2 separate regions of the Homo sapiens genome follow, and region 1 is linked to region 2. The links are contacts of gene promoters, found by promoter capture Hi-C in human tissues and cell types (Jung and others, 2019). All regions are on one chromosome and are shown on one strand. Each heading gives the region's core, a stretch centred on a gene start or on the middle of the fragment in contact. The rest is flanking DNA. Distances are from core to core; before and after follow the strand shown. Region 1 overlaps RBFOX2 (RNA binding fox-1 homolog 2). Region 2 holds the start of MYH9 (myosin heavy chain 9).

Region 1 (2,911 bases), core at 384-2,883, 370 kb after region 2:
TTTCTTAGAACCCGTGGGATCTCTGTTGGGAGGGTGGGTGACAGATTCACTGGCTGTTTTAGTGGTACATGGAAGGCAGGAACAGTAAAAATGTCGTGTTTCAAATTTTATAAGTTTTGTTACGTATGTTGGTTCAAAAGTGGCACTTTTTGTTCTCATTTTGTCTATGGAAATTGAGCTGGGATGCCTTTGTGTTGTCTCTTGTGGTCCCTTTTCAGTCTCTTCAAACCCGCTCTCCAGACTGCTAACACAGTGATCTATCTAAAAGAGCCAATCTGGCCAGGTGCGGTGGCTCATGCCTGTAATCCCAGCACTTTGGGAGGCTGAGGCGGGCAGATGACTTGAGGTCAGAAGTTCGAGACCAGCCTGGCCAACATGATGAAACCCTGTTTCTACTAAAAATACAAAAATTAGCTGGGCGTGGTGGCGCATGCCTGTAATCCCAGCTACTTGGGAGGCTGAGGCAGGAGAATTGTTTGAACCCAGGAGGTGGAGGTTGCAATGAGGAGAGATCGAGCCACTGCACTTCAGCCTGGATGACAGAGTGAGACTCTGTCTCAAAAATAAAACAAAAGAGTCAATTTGTTACTCCACGCTTAAAATCTTTTGAGAGCTTGTGTTTTTTCTCAGGATTGTCTGTTCTCTTGTTTGGCCTGACTTCTGCGTAACTTTCAAGCTCCGTCTCTTTCCACATTCCACCTCCAAGTCCATGTCCAGTGGCTTATAGTTTTCTTAGCATGTGGTGCCACCCAGCTAATGAATACCTCTGTGCTTTTGTTCCTTTCCCTTCTACCCAAAGTTCCTGCTTCATCTCTTCTACCCCCACATTTGTAAGGCTCAATCTTTAATAATGAGTTTGGATATTGATTCCTCCTGGATGCCTTTTGTGACTATTCCCATGTCTCCCACACTCCTGCTGTCTTCCAAGACATCATGTCTATAGCTCTGTTAAAGGACTTTTTAGATTAATACTTGATTGAATGTCTGCCCCACCACGCTTACCCAGACTGTGAGATCCTTAGGAATCTGTAGGATTAAGCACCATGCCTGGGCCCAAGTAGTCAAGAAACTGTCCATTTTTGTTAAATTGAACTTTGTCTTCCTGCTTCTCAGTTGGGGCCTGCAGATGGCTTTAATTGTTTATCCAGATTTTCCCTGGGGGGTCTGGCCCTTGGTCTGCTTTCTATCCCCTGTGAAGACTGCATGTTGTGTGATATGTGAATGTTAACCTGATCTTTTCATTGATATCAGGGTTAAAGGTGAGAGAGGGGTCTCTGAAAACAGAAGCTGGGGTAGAATTTAACTGCAGAATGTGTTGGGTAGGCATAGCAACCTGATATTTAGTTTCCTGTGTTCAGATATTAATTGAGTGCACGTGTGTATATGTAAAAAGCTCCTTTGTGATAGTGTGGTTAAGGAGAAAAGAGGAACCACACAAGTGAGAGAGGCAATTAGAGCCAACCTGTTCCAGTTCGCTGGAGCAGGCTGTTGATTTACCTTTTTACAGTGCTGCTGCAGGATTCTGGAGTGTAGCAGTTCGCATGTATTACCACCATTTGGGGTGAGAACTATTTGATCAGCTAGGGACCTTAACCTTTCTCTTCTCAACCAGTGAATTTCATCGGATACTATAGCTTTATTTTTTATTTTTTATTTTTTTTGAGACCGAGTTTTTGCTCTTCTTGCCCAGGCTGGAGTGCCATGGCATGATCTCGGCTCACTGCAACCTCCGCCTCCCGGGTTCAAACAATTCTCCTACCTCAGCCTCCCGAGTAGCTGGGATTTACAGGCACCCACCACCAAGCCTAGCTAATTTTTGTATTTTTAGTAGAGACAGGGTTTCACCATGTTGGCCAGGCTGGTCTCGAACTCCTGACATCATGATCCACCCGCCTCGGCTTGCAAAGTGCTGGGATTACAGGCATGAGCCACGTGCCCGGCACTGTAACATGTTTTTATGGATCTGGGGAAAATACCAAGCGGAGACACTTCACAATACATGGTATTTTTCACATCACTCATATTGGATATGTTTGAAAATAAGGAAGTCTGATAGTGTTCCTTTAAATCTCAGCCTTGGCGATAGATTCATAGAAGTATTTTATAAGAATTCTCTCTGGCTGTTGTTCTCCCCTCCGACTTCACTTTCAGCTTCTGGTTTGGGGTCCTGTATAATCCTTGCCTGTTCCAGCCAGTTTAGTAGGGACCTCTTTAGCTGCAAATGATTGTACTTCATAGTGCCTCTGGCCTTTTCTATTCTAAATGAATAAAGAGAATTCTGAGAAGGGAATGAGAGAGAGCAGCCTGTAATATATCACTTCCTTCTGACATGTCCTGCACTTACGTGGCATCTAGAAATTTCTGCCAAAAATTCAAGGCACAGGACACATGATAAATACCACTTATGAAGTAGATGACATTCTTGAATTGTCAAATGATGGTGATGGAATAACTGCTTAAAAACCTGTTTTCCCAAGGGTGGAAAACAGCCTTTGAGGTTTAGACTTCCACATGGGTGTGTTCAGCCATAAGACGTGGGTTTTCTTAGGGACTTAGGTCCCCAGGTAACACCTTGGTGTGTGGGATTTTTCCCATGTATAGGCTGGTTCCTTGGTTTCTCCGTTGTTGAAGAAGAGAGATTTTGCACTGGGTATTGGATATTTTATTCCAGGCATGTGGTTTTTGAGGAGGCATATTGTTGATGTATTTTTTTTTTCTGGCTGCATTGATTTTTGTCAGATTCTAACTGGAAATACCACAAGCAAAGCATGATTTATCATGAGGGATGGGTGGTGTGGCCGTGGGACTCTCCTAGCTCTGGGGATTGGGGTGGAGGCAGAAGCTATGTGAGTAAAACTAGAGGAACTACAGACAGGGCCTGGGGAGACTGGGGGTGTCTGAATGTGGCCTG
Region 2 (2,860 bases), core at 6-2,505:
ATCTTTATATATTGCTGATAGTAATTTGTCACAGAGTTGCAAAATCTTTTTTTCCCAGCTTTCTTTTGCCTTTAGAACATAGCTTTTTTCTGAAGTTAATTTGGAAGAATAGTCATGATAGCAAGCACATTCCAGTAAGAAAGAGTAATGATGAGAAATTTGCCCTCATAGATATAGAATGTATTATAAAGGTATCTTCATTAAAGCATGGTGGGATTGGCACAGGTGCACACAGAGAGATCAATGTATACAAGTCAGAAACAGCTTCAAGTATAATAGTTCTATAGGCGATGAAGGTGCCAACTAAAATCAGTGGAGAAAACAGTGTTTGGACAAGTGGCTATTACAAAAATTATCTTAGGTTTCTTCCTTACCCCAAAAATAAATTCCAAATGGATCAAAAGATTTTTCATTTAAAAATGAAAACATTTTTTATCCTCTTGTAGTGGACAGTAACAAAAAAAAAGTGCAATTTGTAACAAGTACCTGAAAGGATGTATGCGAGTTAATGACATGGAGGTGAAGAGAGGCTCGGAAGGGTATTCCAGGTGGAGAGAACGGCCAGAGCGAAGGTTTGGAGGCTGAAAGGCAGCAACGTGCGGATCCTAAAGAGGCAGGGTCAGGAATCGAACTCAAGACGCTCACAATGGAATCCAGGGCTGAGTCCATGCCCGCCCCCACAGGGATCATAATTATGTAAAATAGCATTTTTCCCATATATGGTACTTAATATCTGTCCTTGTGGTGGGATGACATGAGACTGAGAGCACAGCTCGCGGGGCGGGGTGTCAGAGTTCCAGACCTTCCCAGTCGGCTCCCGCAGGGCCTCGCCCCGGCCCAGGCAAGGCACCAAAACCCCGGCCCGGAGCTCTCCGCGCCCCGAGTCGCCGCCTCCTGATTGGATTCCCCCTGTGTCAATCCTTGTCCTAGAACCTGGCTGTCCGTTGGACCCGCCCTAGAGGGCGGGGCTCCCGCCTAGGAAGCGCGGGGGAAGGTGGAGCGGGTGGAGGTGGGGCGGAAAGAGGATGTTGAATCCCCACCCATCTGGCCGCAGAGGCTCCGCCCACCCCCTTTCCACAGGCCAATACGTCTGCCCATCAAGGCCAGGCGCGGCCTGCAGTGGGTGTAGCAGGAAGGGGGCGGGATTGTGCCCCAGGCTCCGCCCCGGAGCCGGCTCCCGGCTGGGAATGGTCCCGCGGCTCCGAGGGCGGGGCGGGAAGGCGGCGAGGAGCCGAGCTGGGTGCGGTGAGGCGCGCAGATCACCGCGGTTCCTGGGCAGGGCACGGAAGGCTAAGCAAGGCTGACCTGCTGCAGCTCCCGCCTCGTGCGCTCGCCCCACCCGGCCGCCGCCCGAGCGCTCGAGAAAGTCCTCTCGGGAGAAGCAGCGCCTGTTCCCGGGGCAGATCCAGGTTCAGGTGAGCGAGCCCCACCGCGGTCCCGCCCCGGGCAGGCGGCGGCGGGCGGGCGGGGGCGAGACGCGCTGCCGCCAGGCCGACTGGTGGTTCTTGGGCTCAGTGCGGCCCGCCACCCGCGCGGGCGGGGGCGAACGCCGGCGGCTCAGGGCCCGGCACCGCATCCTTCCCAGGGGGACCGGGACCCCCACGCGGGCGCTCGGGGAGGGCGCCGGCAGCAGCGAGGCCTAGGGGTGCAGGGGCGGCCTCGGGACCCGGCGCTCCCCGGCGCCCCCCGTGTCCCCCGGCGCGGTCTCAGGACTGGGCACTGGAGCCGACCTCCCCCAGCCGCTGGGGCACGCGCCCCGCCCTCGCCTCGCCCAGGCCCGACTCGGGCAAACTTTTTAACCCCTTCCGGGAGCCGCGGCCCCTGGGACGCAGCCTCACGGGTTGGGAGCCCGGGGCAGCCGCTCCCGTGGAAGTTTCTGGCGTCTGAGGCACGGAGGTAACGGGCAGCGGGCACCGTTTGGCAGCTGTCAGGGCGTCCTCCTGAGTCAGAGTCGGACCGTCCCGCTGCAGACCTTGCACCCGGCCCGGTTTCCGCCTCCGCGGCCGACTTCCTCATTCGCCCGCTGCCGTCGGACTGGTCGGGGAGGGCCCGGGGGAGGTGCGGCGGCTGCCCGGACAAGGGGGACCCGGCGGGGACCCGGGCGCGAGACAGGAAGGGCCACCCCCAGTCCCTGCTCCAGCCCTCGACCTCCGACTTCTGATCCTCGGGGGAGGGAGGCCCGGAATGCAGCAGCCGTCGGGGCCGCCCAGGCGTGCACCTGATTCCACCGCACCCAGGGGCCATCCCGTCTGGGCGGGGTGCGGGGGCAGCTAGCTCTGCCGTTACGAGCAGGCCTGGGCGATTGCATCTTTCCTGTTTGAGCCAAATCGGAGTTTTCTATTCTCCACTCCACGCACCCGCTTCCCTGTGCTGGGGTCCTCACCCCATCCTGTTCTGGGGCCACGCACAGGAGACAGGACTGCGGCACCCTCATTCTCCAGGGAAGCCCCGCTGTTTCAAACTGAGACTCAGCACCCCCAGCACTAGCTTGCCGGCTGTCCTGTGGTGGGGGGCAGGGTGAGCGCACGGCCCCACCCAGCCGGTGTGGAGAGAAGACTCCTTGGGAAGTCCCAGGTCGTAGAGGCAGGCGGCTGTCTCCACCGGGCAGTTGAGAGGCCCAGCCACTTCTCGGTTCACTGCGCCCTTTTCTGGGTTTAACAGGATTTCAAAGTGACTGATGAGTAACCGTGGAAAGGGAAGAGAGCCTTAGCTCCTTCTCCGTGCAGCGCAGCACTGTGGCCATTCTAACTACACTGTCTGGGCCAGTGTTTGGCTCACCTGATGGCTTAGGAGTCCCTTTTTGGTAAGGAGGGAGGCCTTTTGAGACAATCACTCAATTAATAATAGTCAGTTTATATAC

Evidence for each region. The method cuts DNA at HindIII sites, captures the fragments that hold promoters and counts their contacts. A contact is called where the count stands out against the background at its distance.
Region 1: a contact is called between a fragment that was not itself captured here and the fragment with the promoter of MYH9 in region 2, in 1 of the 25 tissues and cell types used here (dorsolateral prefrontal cortex).

Annotation. Positions count from the first base shown.
Region 1 is chr22:36,016,280-36,019,190 of GRCh38, reverse strand. All of the region lies in intron 1 of RBFOX2 (RNA binding fox-1 homolog 2), which reads left to right. Among named protein-coding and RNA genes, the nearest start is that of RBFOX2, 11 kb to the left of the region's middle. The HindIII fragment of the contact is 5,046 bases long and covers 1-2,911 here.
Region 2 is chr22:36,386,362-36,389,221 of GRCh38, reverse strand. MYH9 (myosin heavy chain 9) reads left to right here and starts at 1,255. Exons shown (of 41, transcript NM_002473.6): 1 at 1,255-1,415. It overlaps MYH9-DT (MYH9 divergent transcript), which reads right to left and starts at 628. Exons shown (of 3, transcript NR_183573.1): 1 at 487-628. RefSeq lists enhancers at 944-1,238, 2,669-2,860 and silencers at 1,032-1,611, 1,642-1,721, 2,002-2,231. The HindIII fragment of the contact is 20,760 bases long and covers 1-2,860 here.